6 separate regions of the Homo sapiens genome follow, and regions 1, 2, 3, 4 and 5 are each linked to region 6. Evidence: promoter capture Hi-C in 16 types of primary human blood cells and fetal thymus (Javierre and others, 2016). All regions are on one chromosome and are shown on one strand. Each heading gives the region's core, a stretch centred on a gene start or on the middle of the fragment in contact. The rest is flanking DNA. Distances are from core to core; before and after follow the strand shown.

What was found. The method cuts DNA at HindIII sites, captures the fragments that hold promoters and counts their contacts. A CHiCAGO score of 5 or more calls a contact.
Region 1: a fragment that was not itself captured here is called in contact with the fragment with the promoter of RWDD2B in region 6 in 7 of 17 cell types (total CD4 T cells, total B cells, fetal thymus and 4 more); the score reaches 12.9 in total CD4 T cells.
Region 2: a contact is called between a fragment that was not itself captured here and the fragment with the promoter of RWDD2B in region 6, in 5 of 17 cell types (naive CD8 T cells, total CD8 T cells, non-activated CD4 T cells and 2 more). The highest score is 13.4, in naive CD8 T cells.
Region 3: a fragment that was not itself captured here is called in contact with the fragment with the promoter of RWDD2B in region 6 in 1 of 17 cell types (M0 macrophages); the score reaches 5.2 in M0 macrophages.
Region 4: a fragment that was not itself captured here is called in contact with the fragment with the promoter of RWDD2B in region 6 in 4 of 17 cell types (total CD4 T cells, activated CD4 T cells, naive CD8 T cells and 1 more); the score reaches 8.9 in total CD4 T cells.
Region 5: a contact is called between the fragment with the promoter of MIR155HG here and the fragment with the promoter of RWDD2B in region 6, in 9 of 17 cell types (non-activated CD4 T cells, activated CD4 T cells, total CD4 T cells and 6 more). The highest score is 11.0, in non-activated CD4 T cells.

The regions. Positions count from the first base shown.
Region 1 is chr21:25,751,018-25,754,408 of GRCh38, forward strand. GABPA (GA binding protein transcription factor subunit alpha) reads left to right here. Exons shown (of 10, transcript NM_002040.4): 5 at 972-1,217. Among named protein-coding and RNA genes, the nearest start is that of GABPA, 18 kb to the left of the region's middle. The HindIII fragment of the contact is 399 bases long and covers 1,263-1,661 here.
Region 2 is chr21:25,716,714-25,720,034 of GRCh38, forward strand. JAM2 (junctional adhesion molecule 2) reads left to right here. Exons shown (of 10, transcript NM_021219.4): 10 at 1-849. LOC124905002 (a long non-coding RNA gene) reads right to left here. Exons shown (of 2, transcript XR_007067827.1): 1 at 948-3,321. Among named protein-coding and RNA genes, the nearest start is that of ATP5PF, 17 kb to the right of the region's middle. The HindIII fragment of the contact is 2,731 bases long and covers 679-3,321 here.
Region 3 is chr21:25,952,578-25,955,885 of GRCh38, forward strand. It overlaps APP (amyloid beta precursor protein), which reads right to left. Exons shown (of 18, transcript NM_000484.4): 12 at 3,050-3,178; 13 at 2,013-2,112. Among named protein-coding and RNA genes, the nearest start is that of APP, 220 kb to the right of the region's middle. RefSeq lists an enhancer at 2,087-3,286. The HindIII fragment of the contact is 2,407 bases long and covers 492-2,898 here.
Region 4 is chr21:25,587,278-25,590,727 of GRCh38, forward strand. MRPL39 (mitochondrial ribosomal protein L39) reads right to left here. Exons shown (of 10, transcript NM_017446.4): 9 at 1,558-1,605. Among named protein-coding and RNA genes, the nearest start is that of LINC00515, 5.8 kb to the left of the region's middle. The HindIII fragment of the contact is 2,632 bases long and covers 589-3,220 here.
Region 5 is chr21:25,560,837-25,564,304 of GRCh38, forward strand. It overlaps MIR155HG (MIR155 host gene), which reads left to right and starts at 1,309. Exons shown (of 3, transcript NR_001458.3): 1 at 1,309-1,421. RefSeq lists an enhancer at 844-893 and silencers at 1,274-1,363, 1,374-1,653. The HindIII fragment of the contact is 13,141 bases long and covers 1-3,468 here.
Region 6 is chr21:29,017,797-29,021,497 of GRCh38, forward strand. It overlaps RWDD2B (RWD domain containing 2B), which reads right to left and starts at 1,553. Exons shown (of 5, transcript NM_016940.3): 1 at 1,415-1,553. The coding sequence starts at 1,481. It overlaps LOC124905005 (a long non-coding RNA gene), which reads left to right. Exons shown (of 2, transcript XR_007067836.1): 1 at 1-451; 2 at 1,117-3,532. RefSeq lists an enhancer at 1,394-1,643. The HindIII fragment of the contact is 4,408 bases long and covers 508-3,701 here.

The sequences.
Region 1 (3,391 bases), core at 212-2,711, 3.3 Mb before region 6:
TGTACTTTGATTGAATTTTGATATAGATTGTAATAGATTCAGTAAGAAACAGAAGCAGTTATGTAATATGACAGTGTCTTAGAGCTGTCATTTTAGTCTGAGGTTATTTCGTAAAGGGCTAATTCCATTTTGAATAGATAAATAAAAGTATATCTTATAGAGAGTACTGCACACATAATGAAATAACTGTTTTTATGGCATAATTTCTTGGCTTAATTATAATTTAATTAGGTATAATCAAATTATAATTTAATAGTTTAAATGTGTTTTAAACTATCCAGAATTAAATCAAAATCAGAATTTTGATTTAATTCTGGATAGTTGAGGAGCCTTTGTATTAATAAATTATTTATTTTTATTTTTTATTTTTTCCATAGGAATTACAGTTCTTAACACCTTTATACTAGGAGCTTAAAATATTCAGGATTTGGGTTTTTCTTCATCTCATTTAAAATGAAATTTAGAATTTAATGGTTAATTTAATTTAGTAAATTTGGCATAATTTTTAACACATCTACTTTGTCCTTTAAAAAGAAAAACTGAGTCAGTAAATAATAATTTTAATTTGCTTAGAAGGATTTTTTAAAATTCCAAGGATAGGTAGCTGCTCATTTATACTCTGCCTAGTCTAATTTTTATTGTTTCGTATTGGTAATTTTTATTTTTATTTATCTATTTATTTTATTGTGGTAAGAACTGGTACTTCTTTTTTTCTAATGATGTTTATAGGTAGGGTTTGTGTGTGTGTCTTATTTTTTATAAAATTATTTTAAACTTGTAGAAAAGTTGCAAGACTAGTAAAAGAATTCTTGAATATCCTTCACCCAGATTCCCCAAATGTTAACTTTTACTACATTTGCTTTATTCGATGTAGTTTTTCTCTACCATTTGGGAACATATAAACTAAATTATTTTTTGGTGACTTCTGCGTTTTCATTTAGATTTACAATTTTTTTTTATCCACTGTTCAGGAATTGAACCAAAGTTAAACATCCTTGAAATTGTTAAACCTGCGGACACTGTTGAGGTTGTTATTGATCCAGATGCCCACCATGCTGAATCAGAAGCACATCTTGTTGAAGAAGCTCAAGTGATAACTCTTGATGGCACAAAACACATCACAACCATTTCAGATGAAACTTCAGAACAAGTGACAAGATGGGCTGCTGCACTGGAAGGCTATAGGAAAGAACAAGAACGCCTTGGGATACCCTATGGTAATAAAATGCATAATTCTATATTGGGTAGAATAATAGGAATTAAGCTTGACATAGAAGACACTAGGGTAAGTTATAATCTATTTTACATGTAGAGTTATTAGGATGAATGTTGATTTTCTGTATCTCTCTTTTAATTGTAACGCACATTTAAGCTCATGTGGTGGACAAATTCTGTCCTGCGTGCAGGAAATACAAAGAAGTCTAAAAAATTTCTGCTCTTAGGGTGTTGAGAGTGTAGTTGAAGAGAGAGAAGATAGATGAAAAGAGATGATTGCCATAAAAGGTAACATGTTTTTAAACTGCCAGTAACTCTTGTAGAAGTATGCTATTGGAATCTCAAAGAGATCATAGTTGCCCTGAGGGAAAGCTGAAAAGAGTTTATTATAAATAAGATACCATTGGGCAGAGAAAGACATTTAAGACAGGAAATGTTATGTGCAAAGCTTAGACCTGGGGGTATGCATGAGTAGTGAGAAAATGGAGTGGTTAAGGAGTTACTCTGTAGCATTACAGAACTGTTTTTGATTGATGAAAATGATAATTGAAAAATGAATATGGTGGCAATATATGGCATAAGTTGGAACAGGTAGAGACTAAGTGAAGGGAAAACAGGAGCATATTATTATAGTTGTGACTGGATGATAATGTCTACATTAGCCCAGACTCCAGATGATTTCTTTGGGAGTAGCAAGGAAAAAGTGGATGAAAACAGTGATAGGACTGAGCAGATTGACAGATTTTATGAGGGTAGAGAGGGAAGATACAAGTATTGATCTAACTTCTCAAGCTTCATCTTGGTGACTAAAACAGTAATAATCTTGATAAAAATTGGTTCCATCATCATTACATATTTAGTGAACACTACCGTACACCAGGCACCATGTTAAATGCTGGGCTTAATTAAGATGGTGCACTATGAAGAGCATGCTTTCAAAAGCCCAGTTGGGGAAGTAGAGAAGTCTGGTATAGGAAATGTTTTTTTCAAGAGAAGGTGGATAGCACTTGATTTTGATGTGGAAGTTTATATTCAGCTGGAGGTTAGCCAGAAAATGGTTTCAGTTATATAAGATTTGGGCTGGAGACAAAGATGTTATATGAGACTCATTCCCACTGAATTTATATTTGAAGCTATAAAAGTCTACGTAGTCCCTGATGGAAAGCGAGAAATGGAAAAGAACACACAACTAAAGGCATATACACTTGACCCTGTAAACATTTAGGGTTGGAGAAAAGGGAGACAAGAAATAACTGAAGAGACAGAAAGAAAGTAATAACTTATATGTATAGTGTCACTGAAATTGAGGGGAGAGTTTGGATGGTCAAGACTCTCAGATGCTGCTGAGAAAGTCAAAGAATGCTGACTGATATCTATTAAATTTGATGATCAGAGGATTATTCTTAAATTTAGACAGAAGTAACTAGAGTTGGCGAGACAAAACAGAATTATAAGAAATAGATATCTTAGAAATGGGGGCAGATGAGGAAGAATGCTGGGGTAACAAATAAATAATACTGATCTTCCAAGAGTTGGCGGGGACCTGAGTGTATTTGTAAATGAAACAGTATTGTCGGGTTTTTGTCCTTTTTTTATTTTTTATTTTTAGAGACAAGGTTGTACCTGGGGAGCAGGGCTGATGACAGAAAGGCTGTATTGTAGAACCACTGTTTTCCCTAGGACATTTTTTTTCTTTCTTTAAACCAAACCTAAAAGATACACAGTAAATGAGAGAGCTTACCCATGGAACTGAAAGAGAGCTATGGAACCAGACAGCTAATGTAGAATTTCAGTCTGTCCCTCCGCTGCCCAGTACTGTAGCCACTAATCACACGTCAGCACTTGAAGTGTCTCTGGTCAAAATTAAGATGGGTTGTAAATGTAAAAATACCCATTAAAAGAAAAAGTATAAAATCTTTTCTAATTTTTTATATTAATTACCAGTTGAAATAACATTTGGAACATTAAGTTAAAATAAATTCATTATTAAGATGTATTTGACCAACTTTTTAAATGTAACTATTAGAAAATTTAAAATTACATAATGGTCTGCATTGTATTTCTGTTGGACAGCCCTGATCTTGATAATTGTAGCCTTCAGTTCTGGATGTTCTTACTGCATTATTTTGATAAATACCTGTGTTCTTTTTGCTGGAACTCCTGTTGAATCTCTTGA
Region 2 (3,321 bases), core at 794-3,293, 3.3 Mb before region 6:
ACAGACAAGATTTGGCCCACAGGCATAGATTCCCAACTCATGGTGGTGAAGTACAGAAAAAAACACCTGTCTACAAGCTTTTGTAAGAAATCAGGCTAAATGTTACCTATGTTTTGGTTGGAAGATTTCTTTGGTTTGAGGAATGCTTTCCTCTTGCATTGGCATGCCAAGAGGATAGATGACTCTGAAAGACGCCTCTTCAGACATACCTGTCATCACACAAGATCAACTTCTTCAGTTTAAATGACACAAATCCATATTGTGGAAGGAAAATATGTAGTGCCTTAGCTTCACTAATAGTTGTAAAACTTCTTTTTAAGACATCAAAGGCTAGAGGATTCATTTTATGCAGTGCGAACATCTAATAACACTCTCTGTGTCAAATATATATTGTACATTACCTTAAACTATTGTAATAGCTAGGTAAAAATCCTTGTATAAAAGAATGTTTTCCCCCACACAAAGGGCAGAGTATTGAGCACTAATTTCCTATTAAAAGTATATATATGTATCTGTGGGTCACTGGTGTCCAGACTTGTATTTGCATTTGTGTTTACTTGAGGAACTTGAACACTAACAACTGGTAAAATCCCATTGTAATTCTTACAGCATTTTGACTTTATTTTCCTGCAGTGAATTGTGTTGTGTAAAGATTAGGGCTTTAAAATCTTATTAGCAAGCTTTGTTTTGTTTTAATTATTGTTGCTGTTGTAACTAGATTTAATTTATTTTTAGTTGGAGGTTTGACCTAAGTCTGGACCAATTGATTGCTTTTCAATACAACTTTGCAAAGAACTTCCTTTTTCCACAGGTGGCTTTGTTCGATTAAAGTCTACACTAATAAAAATAGCTGAACTTGTTAAACTTTTTAGCCCCATATAACAGTGCAGGGAAAGAGTCATCCACCTATTGTTATTCATAAAACCCAGGAAACTACACCCTCTTACCTTCTGTAGCTACAAGGCTAGCTGCTGGTTAGCTGCTTAAGATTAGAATGTCATCATCTCTGGATGGCTGCCAACTTCTCAAATGCTGAGAAAAATGCTCTGAAAATAAAAAGCAACAACTATTTATTGAACACTTTATATATGTCAGAGGTGGGGATGGATGGGGGTGAGGATGTAGAAAATCTCATTCATCTCAGCGATACTATAAAGTGGGTAATGTCATCATTTTGCAGATGAGGAAACAAGAGTTACTGACTTGTCAAGTTCATGGAGCTGAGGAGTGAGGAATCAGGGTCTGTGGGGACCCAGATCAGTCTGATCCAGGATGTTTCACACACCATGTTTTTCTCTACCCCCAGGCTGACTTCCTTTTAAATTCTTTGCTGTTATTGTTGAGATGGGGTTTTGCTCTGTCACCCAGGCTGGAGTTCAGTGCCGCGATCACGGCTTACTGCAGCTTTGACTTTCCAGGCTCAAGTGATTCCCCCAGCTCAGCCTCCCAAATAGGTGACACCACAGGTGTGTGCCATGCCCAGTTAATTATTTATTATATTTTTGTAGAAGGGGGGTCTTGCCACGTCGCCAGGCTGGTCTCAAACTCCTTGACTCAAGCGCTCCTCCCTCTTCGGCCTCCGAAACTGCTGGCATTACTATAGGCCTAAGCCCGGTCCTTTTATTTATCTATTTATTTTTAAATTTTATGTATTTATTTATTTTTTGAGACGGAGTCTCGCTCTGTCGTCAGGCTGGAGTGCAGTGGCGCGATCTCAGCTCATTGCAACCTCAAGGGTTCAAGCAATTCTCCTGCCTCAGCCTCCCGAGTAGCTGGGACTATAGGCGCGCTCCACCATGCTTAGCTAATTTTTGTGGTTTTAGTAGAGATGGGGTTTCACCAAGTTGGCTAGGATGGTCTCGATCTCTTGACCTTGTGATCTGCCCACCTCGGCCTCCCAAAGTGCTGGGATTACAGGCGTGAGCCACTGTGCCCAGCCGAGCCCAGTCCTTTTAAATTCTTGTGCGCTTCTCTGTCACACTTTCCTTTCACCCCCAGTTATCTCTGGCCCCTCATCGCCTTCCTGGTCTCACTGCCAGACAAAATACCTTTTTGTCATGCCTTTCCCCTAACCCAGTCTAAATATCACAGTGGGCCATTTCATTCTCTTCCACTCTCCTCTCATTCTCCGAAGATGCCCAAATCTCTAATATTATTTTGAAAAATATTGAGGCTAACCAGGATGAATGCATTTAAATCCTATCACCACCACTGCCCCCTCCTATCTCTAAATCTCTCCATCTTTAGCCTCCCATTTATTCACTGACTACATCATTCATTGTCTTATTTGATTCTTCAGTCACTACTTTCATCCTTTTATCTCAGGCTTTCAATAGCATCTCAACGTTTATCTCCGGGAACTTCCACCCTCCAGTACCCTCTCAGTCACAACGTCAATCTCTCCAGTTCCAAAGGCTCCTTTTCCCTCTAATCTCTTCTTCCCCCCACCCCATCCATCAATTTGCCCCATTTCTCTCGAACCATGTCAACTCCCTTCTCCTTTCCCCTGGCTAAACCCTTTCACTCTTCCTTTACCTAGTCTATCACAAAATCTAAACTCCTCAGCCTGGAATTCAAGGTTTCCCACCCATCACAGACATATCCCATCATATTGCCACAGCCTACGTATTCAGCTATATGTTCTACTAACTTCTTCGGTTGCCTCATGTACCCATTAAACTGAGCTATGGTCATTTTATCTTAACCCATTTCCCCCTCCTCTATACACTTACCTATAACACCCTATCCACCTGGAATGTTAATTCTCCTAACCACAAGACTTGTATATTCTATCTACTTATTAAGAGACAGGTCAAATTCCACCCCCTCTAGGACAGCCTTCTCTCATTTCCCCTGCTGGAAACTCTTTCTTCTCTGAATTTCCGTAACCCTTGATTCACTTACTGGTTTCTACCCCATAATAGGAATGAACATGTTTGACACCCCTACCAATCTGGAAGCATTTTGAGAAAAGAACCATGTTTTACACAACTTTATAAGACCCAAAGAATTTAACAGCATCTAACGTGGTTGGTATTTAATGTGATAAATGAATTTTTAAAAATCAAAGGAACACTTGTCAAAGAGCAAATTTAGTATTTAACTATAAAATTTCCCCATAAATTTAGTTCAAATATTAATAAATGATTGTATTCTGAAATATGTAATTATAATAGTTATCTAATATGTGAAGTTACAAAGTTGTTCCATGAATGAAGGCTGGATGGAAACTATTTTTCTCATACCAGTCTTTTAGCAATTAGACATGAATTTCCACACAGTTCTTAAGAAGCTCTTCAAATATTTTTCCAACTTTCAAAT
Region 3 (3,308 bases), core at 445-2,944, 3.1 Mb before region 6:
AAGTTCTAATAATTTAATTATAAAGAGTCAACAATAATTGCTGGGTGAGGGTGGAATATTGGTCATCAACTTTTTAGTCCTTTGTAATGGCTTATTTCCCTATAGTTATTACCTATGCCACTTCAACTGAAGTCACATGTGAAAACAGGCTTAAGATAGCTGTAAAAAACAAACAAACAAACAAACAAACCATGTTTTCTAGAAGATTTTAGCTTCAGTTCATTAAGACTGATAAATTATTTCATTTTGTACCTTCTACAACTTTTTGGAGAACTTCTTTACACTTATTTAATACATAGTATTTTAAAGGTTCCTTACTGATGTCTATTCTCCAAGTATACCTGAAAAGTATATTTGTTTGCTAAAGAAACTTGATACAGTGAAAAATTAATTGGAGATCTCTGTTCTCAATTCATGGTGTAGACTAAAAACTCCACCTCCACTATCTTCATAAATTCTTGCTCAACACTGAGTTGCTCCTTCTGAACAAAAGCTTGGCACACTATGAAGTTGCTTTTTTTCTCTTCTTTTTTAAATTAGAGAGGGGGTTTCACCATGTTGGCCAGGCTGGTTTCGAACTCCTGGCCTCAGGTGATCTGCTCACCTTGGCCTCCCAAAGTTCTGGGACACTGCACCTCCCTGACATATGAAGTTTCTTCTGCAAGTTATGTAGCTCAAAGTATAATTTCAGATTCCGTCCATTAATGTGCAGTACTGAACAGAACATCATCACTTGACACATGCCAAATATTTCACAGCAATACAAACAATATTTACAAGGCCACATAAATCAGGAAAGAATGAGCAGAATAACACTGGCATAAAATGGGAAAAAGTGAGGGCCAGCTGTTCCCTTGAGCGGTGTTTCAGGCACTTCAAAGTCGGACTTACTGTAATGGGTACATCCATCTACAACATCCTGGGTGCTCTGATTCCAGATGATAACCTGTATCTATTTCCAACCCAATTAACAAAGGGTAGGATTCTTTATGGGGAAGGATATGCCAGATACATATTGCTTATATGTTGGTAGACTACACACTAAATCTCCAGTATAGGTACATATGCTTATATTGAAAGATGCACCAACATAATCGTCATCTATGTACCTTTGTGAAGTAAGTTAAACAGTTATGGGCATTTTGGCAGCTGACAGAGACTCATGTGGTATTTTATTCTCTTTCCAAGAGAAACAGAAATGAGAGATCTTAAATGAAATCATTAGTCATTAGGAAAACTAGGGACATAAAAGACAGTGGGCACACAAGGTCAGTTTCCTGGTTTTGATAATGGACTATAGTTACGTAAGATGTCACTGGTGAGGCATGTGGGTGATGGATGCATGAGACCTCTCTGTACTATTTTTCCAAGTTCTTGTGAGAGTACAATTATTTCAGAATATAAGTTTAATAGCCCACTATCTTTTAAGTTTAAACAATGATGTGGTTCAGAGAACACTCATGGCTTCCCTGCTCAGCCATCAAAGAGAATTGTGACTTACTGAATATAACAATAACCTCAAAGTCACAAGTCACAGTTATGTGTTTTGGCTGTGCTACTTATAATGCATGTGACACAGGCCAGTAAGTTACTCAAATTTTAAGTTTGAGCTTTTTCATTTGTAAGATGGAACAATCGTGACACTCAAAAGATGAAGAATGAGTTTTTTTCCCCATTAATTGTAAAGTACCAAAGCATCATAATTTGAGAGCCATAACAAGATTGGGCAAATTAGAAAAAATGCTGCCACGTATAATTCAATAACAAGTGTCCAATTATTACAAAACTATACCCTAAGTCAGGCGACATTCCTCCAGTCTTACAAGTATGGAGAGGTAAGAACTGATTCAATTGCTAAGGCTAGTAAGCTAGTTCCAGCCTGACAGTTTCATCGTAAAAGGCAAGCTGTTCTATTAACTTCCATATTCCTCAAACAGATAACTCACTTCCTCAATTTTCCTCTGGGGGAAAATACATGTCCATGTGCAGCATCAAAAGAACAGCTTACTTACCAACTTCATCCTGAATCTCCTCGGCCACTGCAGGCACGTTGTAGAGCAGGGAGAGAGACTGATTCATGCGCTCATAAATCACACGGAGGTGTGTCATAACCTGCATCAAAGGATGACAACTCCAGGTCAACAATGTCTGGGGGTAGGAATGGTTCTTTTTCTTTCTTTTTTTCTTTTTTTTTTGAGACGGAGTCTCGCTCTGTCGCCCAGGTTATTTTTCTTACCAAGCACTGCAGGTAGATACAAACTTCCAAAAGAAAACTGACAAAACACTGCTACTGTTAAAAAGGTTGAACTGAAAGGGCAACTTTATTTTTCTTGTTCTCCTATTTCTGTTCTCTAACTTTTTGAGCTCAGGTTTAAGACTTGATCTTGAAACTTACCATTATCTTGTATGCTTATAACAGCCAATTAAAAAGGCTACCTCTGCCACCTCTGATTCCTAATACTGAGGCTCTCTTAACAGGACCCTCATGCCTAAATACATTTCTTTGCAAATTTCCCCCTAGAAAACAACGTATTTCAATTTGATTGGCTATTTCATGCTATATATATTTAACTCTTTCATTCAAGAAAATGTAAAATTTCACATTTCCTAAGGTAGATCCCAGTTTTCAGCCTTTGGGAACCGGGGAGTATAAAATACATTATTACTGGGCTTCATTTAGGCTCACATGAAATCTCAACATTCCAGTAGGTTTATGATTGCCTGCCATACTTCAGTTGAACCAGTTTTCAAGATTTTAGTTTATACAACTTTTGTTTTTCTCATTTTAGTCATTGGTTTTAATCAGTTCCTTAGCAATCAGTTAGCAGTAGACTAAGATTTTTACATTTGTTATTTTCATAACTCAGAAAATGCCAAACCACATATTGCTCTAAGACAAGCTTTTAGAATTTACCAGAAGTTAAAGAGCTCTTGCCATAGGGAAAACACCTATAGGTGCTCGGAGAATGCGTGGGATCCTGTCACCAACCCAAGAAGCAAGAATCCTGGATTGTCAAAGCTGCAGAAGATGATTATACCCCACGCTTACCTGGGACCGGATCTGAGCGGCTTTCTTGGGATCCACCATGCGCACATGCTCGAAATGCTTTAGGGTGTGCTGTCTGTCCTTCTGTTCTGCGCGGACATACTTCTTTAGCATATTGAACACGTGACGAGGCTGTGGGAGGAAAATGAAAAACTCTTTTTCAAGTTTGTGCAAAACACTGCTTCTTCCATTGGCGATGGGTTAGAGGTTCCACTAATGCATCCGGTCATGTGAACGTACTGTGAGTCACCTTTTTGCAGGT
Region 4 (3,450 bases), core at 655-3,154, 3.4 Mb before region 6:
AAGTAAACATGCTGAACATTTTTTCTTTAGTTTCTTCATCTAAAATGATCACTGTGACCAACTAAAAAGAGAAAATTACTCCATCCATTCAAAGGTAATTTCTTCTCATGAGAAAAAAAATTATATAACCCTTACTCAAGAACATTATGGTGAAGTCCCTAAACAATAATTCCTATCTACATAGTCATTAATAAAGACTAGGTTTATATATCATTATGAAAAATTGTCAATAAATATTTCTTGGGTAACCCCTTCATGTGCTAATGTTGTGTTCAAAATTTGGGCTTACACAAATATAACAAATCCTGAAAGGCTTAACAGACAGAAAATAAATGTACTGGCAAAGAAAACAATCAAAAAATAGTATGTGGACATATACAATCAAGCACAAACTTATATGAATAATTATTTGTTAGAGATTACTCTGAGACTGTTCCATGGAGGAGGTACGACTCAGGCGAGGTAGTGAAGAATGACTGCGTAGTAAATAGAAGGAGAATGGGAAATGGAGTCTAGAAAGAAAAACTATCATGAAGAAATAAGCAAACTTGAAAATAAGTTTAATGTGTGATGCTTAATGTGCCTGCAAGCTTAACCAGTGTTTGTGGCATTGTGGGAAATTAGGATAAGGAGGAAGTCCTAATGAGGACAGATTACACAGGACAGCTATCAGATAACCTAAGTAAAAGAGGCACACTTAGCCTATGAAATAGGAAACAGGAATAGTTGTGGTCAAGAAATACAATCACCCGGGCCGGGCGCGGTGGCTCACGCCTGTAATCCCAGCACCTTGGGAGGCTGAGGGGGGTGGATCACGAGGTCAGGAGATCGAGACCATCCTGGCTAACACGGTAAAACCCTGTCTCTACTAAAAATACAAAAAAATTAGTTGGACGTAGTGGTGGGCACCCATAGTCCCAGCTACTTGGGAGGCTGAGGCACGAGAATCGCTTGAGCCCGGGAGGTGGAGGTTGCAGTGAGCTGAGATCGCGCCACTGCACTCCAGCCTGGGAGACAGAACAAGACTCTGTCTCAAAAAAAAAAAGAAAAGAAATACTATCATTCCTACTCATTAAGTCTAAATGCTAATGACAAAGAATAAACTACAAAAACACAAACATTCAAATCTGGTTTTTCAGGACATTAGGATATTTGCACATTTACTGTTAATGGCTAAAGGCGGCTTTAAAATACACCTGACAAATCTTAATCCTCTAAATATTCATTAAGTTTACAAAATAAATCCTAAGACCTAACTGATACCATTACAACTATTAAGAACTATTACTATTACATAGTAATATTCTTATTTCTCTTCAAGTTCTACAATATCATTTTCACGATATTAACAAATAAAATCAAAAGAGAACTGCCAAGTTACAACTTTACCCTTACCAACACACTAGTGAACAATCACAACACTGCTTTGACTATTGAGACAACTTACTTTTTTCCTTTCTCTTTGTTTCTTTCATTTTTCCCCCCTTTGGTTGTTATTGGTTAATTTTGATGAATTTCTTTATAGAAGAGTACTCAATAGCTGTCAAAAACACTTACCATTTTCCGAGATCTTTCCAATAGCTTATCCCATATTGTAAAATGTGCCTTGAAAAGAAAAGATTTGCGATGAACTAAATGAAGCAGTAATGTCAAAGTAAAAAGGACAGAGTCTTTATATAGCTTTTAGAACAAAATAAATAAAAAGCTAGGCAGTACTAATTTAGATAAGTGGTTATAAAAGTGGATCATAGTAGCAAAAAAAGGTGCTACATGGGGATAGCTGCTTTTTTGCTTTCTTCAATCGCATGAACCCGGGAGGCAGAGGTTGCAGTGAGCATTTAAGAAAAAAACGCTTAAGGATTGAACGTGCCCTTCTTTCACTTTTGCCCATCTTAATCATTTCCATCATAGAAAGCATTTCTTCTAATAGGAAGCAAAAATCTGCCCTACTTTCCCATAGACTGTGGTTCAATCCTTAAACAGCCAGTTTCAACATTCTAGAAGTCATTCTTCAAATCATAAGCAATCACAAGAAGACAGTCATTAAAAACCAACTGTGACATCTTCACACTGAAATGGCAGAAGCAGAGGATTCATCAAGTTACCCTAAAGAATAAGTAAAACCTAACAAAGACAATAGTAAATTTTTTTTTTTTTTGAAATGGAGTTTCACTCTGTCGCCCAGGCTGGAGTGCAGTGGTGCGATCTCAGCTCACTGCAACCTCCGCCTCCCAGGTTCAAGCAATTCTCCTGCCTCAGCCTCCCAAGACAATAGTAAAATTTAAACTCAATTTCCTTAGTCCATAACAACCTCCTGTAGCAGAGGATTATCAGAATGCATTAAAGAAAACTGTGCAAAGTGTATCATGACCACATCAATTTTATTAGGTCAACTGAAAGTGGTAACAAGACATATGGGCAGGCCAGTGACTACTCCACACTGAATGAGCTCATAAAATCTATAATAAAAGGTAAAATTAATAAATATCAACATACAAACCCTTCCAGGGAAAGAGCTGACTGGTATGTTTAAAGGGAAAACCATGCCTGACTCAGGCGGAATGAACTGCTGGTGCAGAGACCTTAAGCTGTGGCTGGAATATAGTGAGTGAGGAAAGGAGTGGTGTTAGATAAAGTCAGAGAAGCAGGCAGGGACCAGATAATGCAGGGCTTTGTGAGACAGGGTAAAGAGTTGGGATTTGTTCAAGGGAAGCCATTGGAAAGTTTGGGGCAGAGGAAGTACATAACAGATTGTGTATTAAAAAGATCACTTTGGCTACTAAGTGGAAAATGCACTGTAGATGGCAAGAGTGAAAGCAAGGAAGGTGAGTGAAAACAAAGAGGAACTTGGATAAGGGAAGTAGTAGTAGATGAGATGTTATAAGGTGCATAGATTCAGAATATGTTTCAGAGTTAAAAGTTGAAAGGACTTGCGGATGGATGGGCTGGGGCATGGCTATGAGGGGAAAAGAGAATCAAGGATTACCTTAAACAACTAAGGAAACCAGGGGTATCCAATCTTTTGGCTTCCCTGGGCCACACTGGAAGAAGAATTGTCCTGGACCACACATAAAATATACTAACGCTAATGACAGCTAATGAGCTAAAAAAAAAAAAAAATCGCAAGAAAACCTCATAATGTTTTAAGAAAGTTTACAAATTTGTGTCTCATTCAAAGCCGTCCTGGACTGCATGCAGCCCATGGGCTGTGAGTTGGACAAGCTTGAGTTAAAGGATGATCCCATTTTCTGAAATTGGGAAGGCTAGGAAAGGAAGCAGGTATGTGGAGAAAAGTCAAAGTCAAATGTATAGGAGAGGTGTGCTAAATTTTACAAAATGAGAGGGATGAAAGAAGATATAAATAAATAAGAAGATACAGTAAGTTCATAGACTGGAAACCTCAACATATTAAAGATGTCAATTCTCCCCAAACTGCTATACAGGTCTAAT
Region 5 (3,468 bases), core at 59-2,558, 3.5 Mb before region 6:
ATAAGTGTTAGTTGTTATCATCATGATTATTCTTGTTTGAATTATAAGAGAAAAAGCATGTATCTTAAGAATAGAGGGTTTTAAAATGCTCCCAAGTTCCTTAACCAACCTGAGCCATCTGTAAATTAAGTACTATGGGATTTCCAGCTCTGACATGTATTCTGACATGTAACTGGCATCAGTTTAATACAAACTATTCTAAAATGTCTTGTGCCCTTGACAGGGAGGTCCAAGTACTGGATACTTGCAATGCAATCCAGCAGTGGCCCCGTCTTTCTTACAAAAAGGCCCCAGTCACATGTTGATGAGGCTAGATCTATTCCTGTCCTCCTTCTCTTCCCCATATTTCCTTATTCTTCTTCAAGTCTAAACGTTTATTGAACTGAGACCCATGAATGAGTTACTCGACTAGGCTTGTAGGATAAACTTGCCAGGCTTTAGATCTATTTGTTCCTTTCCATCCCCCAAAATCAAATGGCTGCTCCAGGAAAATGTTCCCCTTGTGGCAGGGTCCGGGAGAAAAGAGAGAAGCGACAAAACCAAAAATTAAAACGACCGAAGTCCCATATGCTCCAGGAATATGTCCTGGAGATGGGAGTGGAGGGCAGGGGGAGAATGTTGTTGAGGTCAAAATTTTTGAAGTTTTAAGTCCTATATCTTGACATCCCGAGTATAAATGCGGGTACCAGACACAGTACAAACGTTCTCAAAGCCCAGTTACGTATTCCAAACCAAACGCGGGCTCTTGAAGGGTGATGAGGTAGGGATGAAATCCAGGATCGCCTGAAGACCATTTCTTCCTCTCTTAGGGACCTGCTGGTCTCCAGCTGATTCGGTCCAGGAGGAAAAACCTCCCACTTGCTCCTCTCGGGCTCCCTGCAAGGAGAGAGTAGAGACACTCCTGCCACCCAGTTGCAAGAAGTCGCCACTTCCCCCTCCAGCCGACTGAAAGTTCGGGCGACGTCTGGGCCGTCATTTGAAGGCGTTTCCTTTTCTTTAAGAACAAAGGTTGGAGCCCAAGCCTTGCGGCGCGGTGCAGGAAAGTACACGGCGTGTGTTGAGAGAAAAAAAATACACACACGCAATGACCCACGAGAAAGGGAAAGGGGAAAACACCAACTACCCGGGCGCTGGGCTTTTTCGACTTTTCCTTTAAAAAGAAAAAAGTTTTTCAAGCTGTAGGTTCCAAGAACAGGCAGGAGGGGGGAGAAGGGGGGGGGGGTTGCAGAAAAGGCGCCTGGTCGGTTATGAGTCACAAGTGAGTTATAAAAGGGTCGCACGTTCGCAGGCGCGGGCTTCCTGTGCGCGGCCGAGCCCGGGCCCAGCGCCGCCTGCAGCCTCGGGAAGGGAGCGGATAGCGGAGCCCCGAGCCGCCCGCAGAGCAAGCGCGGGGAACCAAGGAGACGCTCCTGGCACTGCAGGTACGCCGACTTCAGTCTCGCGCTCCCGCCCGCCTTTCCTCTCTTGAACGTGGCAGGGACGCCGGGGGACTTCGGTGCGAGGGTCACCGCCGGGTTAACTGGCGAGGCAAGGCGGGGGCAGCGCGCACGTGGCCGTGGAGCCCGGCCTGGTCCCGCGCGCGCCTGCGGGTGCCCCCTGGGGACTCAGTGGTGTCGCCTCGCCCGGGACCAGAGATTGCGCTGGATGGATTCCCGCGGGCAGAGGCAGGGGGAAGGAGGGGTGTTCGAAACCTAATACTTGAGCTTCTTTGCAAAGTTTCCTTGGATGGTTGGGGACGTACCTGTATAATGGCCCTGGACCAGCTTCCCTGTTGGAGTGGCCAGAGAAGTGTGTAAAACACACTAGAGGGGCAGGGTGGAAAAAGAGACTGCCTTCAAAACTTGTATCTTTTCGATTTCATTTTGAAAAATAACTACAAATCTATTTTAATTTTACAAAGTTAGACTCATAGCATTTTAGATATCAATGTCTTCATTTAACAGAAGTGAAGATGGAGCAAACGCTCAATCAGCGTCTGTATTTATTCGCTCCTGTTGTGCCAGGGTGCGTTTTTGCCGAGCGGTTGCCTTTCTTTACTCACAAAACCCCCTTGATGTCTGTCCTCCACGTTTTACGAGGGAGAGCCGGATCTTTTGAAGTTTGTATCATCTAAAGCAGGTATATTGGGATGACTATGGATAGAATTTAACCTGAAAACACTGAAGTTGACAGCTGACAAAGATATAAGAATCCAAAGTATGTTAAAAATTAAGGAGCTGAGGCCCACAGAAGTGAAGTTACTTTTCCAGCATCACACAGCAGATCTAGGACCCTGTGTGATTTGAAAAGGCCAAGGTATCTAATGATGCTCATAATTTAGTTTACATTTTGTGTCAAATAGATGAGGTCAAGTGGACATTATGTGTATATTCCAAAGCCAAAATTACTGCTTGTAATATCCATTCATCTCTCCGAAGACGTAGTGCCTCTTTTATATGGCTTTAACCTAATGTATAATCGAAGTGAATTAGGGCAGCCAGACTTTTAATCACAGGACTGATCTTTTAAAAACGGGTATATGTAAAGTTAATTGCTTATCTATGTGAACAGTAATATACACTATAAAAAGTTTTCAAGGCAACTTCCTGCCTGTGGTTTAATTTGATAGTCACAATGATAGGAAATTGGCAGGGTTAGGTGGTGGTATCTACATTTTGCCCATGAGGACTTGTGGCTCAGAGAATTTGAGTTTTTTCTAGTAAGGTCACTAGGTCCCTAGTGCACAGCCTGCTTTTAGGTACGGATGTGGGATGGGGGTGTCGGCAGACCACAGGGTTTTGACTCTCAGTTTGGGCTCATTTCCATGACTCCTTGCTGCCTCCCTGATTTCTGTCAAATGACCAAAGCACATTTAGTAATTACTTCTGCTGCAAGGACTACTCCTTATTAGGCTGTGATAAGTAAGTTTCCTCACATAGTGGGTCAGCTCACTCTGGCCACAGGACCCAGCTTCCTAACCACACACATTAAGAAAGAGAAAAATTAGCACTGTCTGAGACCTACAACCACTTCAAGGGAGAACAGTGGTGTTTGCACAAATGTCTACTTTTGTTTTAACCTAGTCATGTGTAAAAAGTGTAATTCACTGGTCTTTACCAAAAAAAAAAAAAAAAAAACAACAACAAAAAAAAAACAGGCATCATAGTCTGCCTGTGCTGGACGCTATGCTAGACACTGGAGAGACAAAGGTGAGCAGGATAGGCACAACCCTACCCTTACAAACCCAGAAAGTTAGAGGAAAGGCCATCAGGACATTGCTGTGCAATTTGATATCATTTCAATTTTGGTAACATAGATATTTGAACTAATTAGAATGTGCTACAAATTTTGCCATTCTTTACTTTCCATATGCCAACATGGAAAATTTGTAACCCTCATCTTTAAATACCTCATCTTACCAGTCCTCTATAAATCAAAAAATCTACCCCAAAAAGCCCTAGGTTTTAACTTTTGAAAAGTTTTTTTTTA
Region 6 (3,701 bases), core at 303-2,802:
GTGTTTTTCTTGGCCAAGAGTGTTCAAGGGAAAGCGAACAGCATATTCAAAGGCCTTGAGGAAGGAGGGTGCTAGAACAGCTGGCCAGAGCACAGTGAGCTGAGGACACGGGGAATAGAAGAGTTTAGTAAGGAAATGTGGGGCAGTTTATGTTGGGACTAGTAAAGCATGGCCAGAATTTTGAATTTTATCCCGACTGACATGTAAGAGCTACAAGAGAGGTTTGACTTATGAAGATCCCCACACTTGCTGCTATGGAGAAAAGTGAAAGGAAAAGTGGGGTGACCAGATATAGACACCGCAATAACTAGGGAGAGATGATGGTGGCTTTGATAGGATTATAGTGGTCAAGTTGGTGAGCTTCAGGTTCTGGATACATGCAGAGAACAGAGGCAACAGGATTTACAGATGAATTACATGAGACACGGAAGAATGACTCCGGGGCTTTAAGGTACTGAAAGTATGGATCTGCCATTTATTTAGACGTTGATGGTCATGGGGAGCTGAAGCTTGGTTTTAGACACAAGTAATGAAGTGCCTACTAAGACACCTGTTAAATAGAGAGGTCTAGCAGGCAGTTAGATGTATAGTTTTGAAGTCTACGAGAGACTCAGCTAGATATATAATCTTGGGAGTCAACACTTATTTGGAACTATATATTTGTTTAAAGTCTCCCAGGGAGTGAGTAAAGTTGGGAGAGGGTGCTATTGAATTGGAGGTATCGAAGATGAAATGGGATTAGCAAAGAAGAACGGGACGGAGGGACTCTTGAACGGACAACTACGGGAGTGATGTCACAGGTCATTTATCTGCCAAATTATTTTCGCTTAAGAGATTTCAGTCCTTCCAAAAAACCCTCAAGATAATTTTATGATTCAAGATTTCAGCGAATGCTGTAAGATAATAGACTGTGGCCGGGCGCGATTGCTCACGCCTGTAATCCCAGCACTTTGGGAGGCAGAGGAAGGGGGACTGCTTGAGCCCAGGAGTTCAAGATCAGCCTGGGTAACATAGTAAGAGCTCGCCTTTATTATTTTTTTAAAAAATAAAATATATTTAAGAGAACGCAGACTGAAACTTGAGATTTCTGAGTGGAATAATATCTTTTCCTTGCAGATTTTTTTTTGAAGAACAGAGCAGGGTACCCCGCGACCCAAGCCAAGACGCTCTCAGGAAGAAAGCCCAGCACGCAGCCGCCCTCGCACCCTGATTGCCCCCGGGGCGAGGTCCCCGGCTGGAGCAGGGCTGCAGAAGCCGGGAAGCAACGCCGAGGACCGAGCCGACCGATGGGCGCATGCAGTGAGGGGAACCGGGGCCGCCATGCCGGGCACGTTCCCAAAGGGTTGCACTGGGCGCTGCAGCGTGGGAAACCCCCGTGGCGGTCACCACTGGCGCTAGCTGAGGCGAGACTCACCTTGAGCCGTGGCCCCCTCACTGCTGTAACCCGGGTTCCATGGCTGCATGGACAGCTCAATTTTCATCAGAAGGGAGCCTCAAAATTCTAGCATACTGCGACCCAAAACTTACAAACCGCCTCAGCTGGCGACCTACCGGAAAAAAAAAAAAAAAGCATGCGGCGCATGCGCGTCCAAGGCCGCGGACCGGAAGCTGGGGCTCGCCTGTTGGGAGCCGCGTCCGCCGGTGTTGGTGTCTGCACTTGGAAGGACGTAGGGAATGCGTTGTCCCTGCTAGGTACTTTTCAGTCGCAGAGTTCTCTTCTTCTTCTTTCTTTCTTCCTTTTTTTTTTTTTTGAGACGGAGTCTCGCTGTGTCTCTCAAGCTGGAGTGCAGTGGCGCGATCTCGGCTCACTGCAGCCTCCGCCTCCTGGGTTCAAGCGATTCTCCTGCCTCAGCCTCCCGAGTAGCTGGGATTACAGGCGCCCACCACCATGCCCAGATAATTTTTGTATTTTTCAGTAGAAATGGGGTTTCACCATGTTGGCCAGGCTGGTCTCGAACTCCTGACCTCAGGTGATCCACCGGCCTCGGCCTCCCACAGTGCTGGGATTACAGGCCTGAGCCACCGTGCCCGGCCGGAGTTTTTCTACTTAATACCTCTCCATGCCAACCCCGTTGTCATTTCCCAGCGGCCGCCTCTATAACGGGCACTTTTCAGGGACAAAGAATTGGTCCGTTAATGTTCCTCAAATTCGAACGCGCCTAGGAATAGTTCGGGGATCCTGTTGAAGTGCAGATCAGGATTCCGTAGGTAGGGGTGGGGTTCCAAATTCTACATTTCTAGTATCTTCCCACACGATGGTGATCCTCCTTGTCCCTGAATCATGGAGGAGGGCAATTAGGGAGATGTGAGCCTGGATGCATGGTGGCCTTGGCTATCTTAGGTGTTCTTGCCCATTAACCAAGCTGGGAGGAACCGTGTGAATGCATATCTATCCCTGTTAATAAAAGGGTAGTTTGAAGGAGATGCTGACAGGAGAATAATTAGAAATGTTTTTCTTCCCAATCCAACTATATGCAATACACTTTATAATATTCATTTTAGAAATGTCATAGATAAGATTTGTAAACATTGACATTTAGCAATACTAAATATCACTGCTAGGTCTCCCCTCCACTTTTTTTTTTTAAACAAAAATACGACAGTATGTATTGTAGGTCTTCATAAACTACGTCTTCTGCATAGTGTTTCATGAGCGTTTTTCAATGTCATAATTTATTTTTTCCTCCAACATTTATTATGAAAAAATTCAAGTGTAAAGCGAAGTCGAGAGAATTTTACAGTGGAGCAGACCTCAAGAGAAGGGGAAGGATGGATTTCCCCTCTATTTAGCAGTGTCTGAAGACATTTTGGGTTGTCACAACTGGAAGGATGGTATTGGCATGGGGTAGGTAGAGCACAGGGATGTTCCTCAACTTCCTACAATGAACAGGACATCCCCCGACAACAACAAATTTGCTGGTCCAAAATGTTGATAGTGTTGAGGTTGAAAAACACTGACCTGGAGAGTACAGAATTTTACTCTACCAGCTTTGTCACATACCTCATCAATCTATCTGTTTTCATACATTTAAAAGTAAACTGCAGACAGTACGCTTCTAAGTACCTCTAATGCACATCATTGGAGTTCAAATTAAGGATTTTTTAAGGTAAAAATGAAATGCATACCTTAAATACACATCAGTTTTTAAATGCACACGCCTATGGAACTCAAGCCATATTAACATATAGAACGTTACCATCACCCTAGAAAGTTCTTTCATGCCCTTTCTTAGTTCCCAACCAGTTCTCCCCAAAGGTAACCACTGTTCTGATTTTTTCCCCCACCATACTTATTTTTCTTGTTATAGAACGTCATATGGTTGGAGTCATGCAATAGATATTTTTGTGTAAGGGTTCTTTCACTCAGGGTAATATTTTCATCTGATATCATGTGTATCACTTTCTTTTGATTGCTCAGTAGTATTCCATCATATGAATATACCAGTTCCATTCTTGTTTTGATAGAAACCTGGGCTGTCTTCAGTTTTTTGGCTATTATAAATAAAGCTGCTGTGAACGTTCTTATATAGCATTTTATTGCTCATGACTTTCTTTTCAATAAATATTTATCGAGCACTTACTATATTCCAGGCATTTCCAGGTACTAATTATAGCCATGAACAAGACAAAGATGTCGCATCTCTCAAAGAGCTTATATTTGCACATTTCTGTGTATGTATGAAGAGGGCTAAACATAAAGG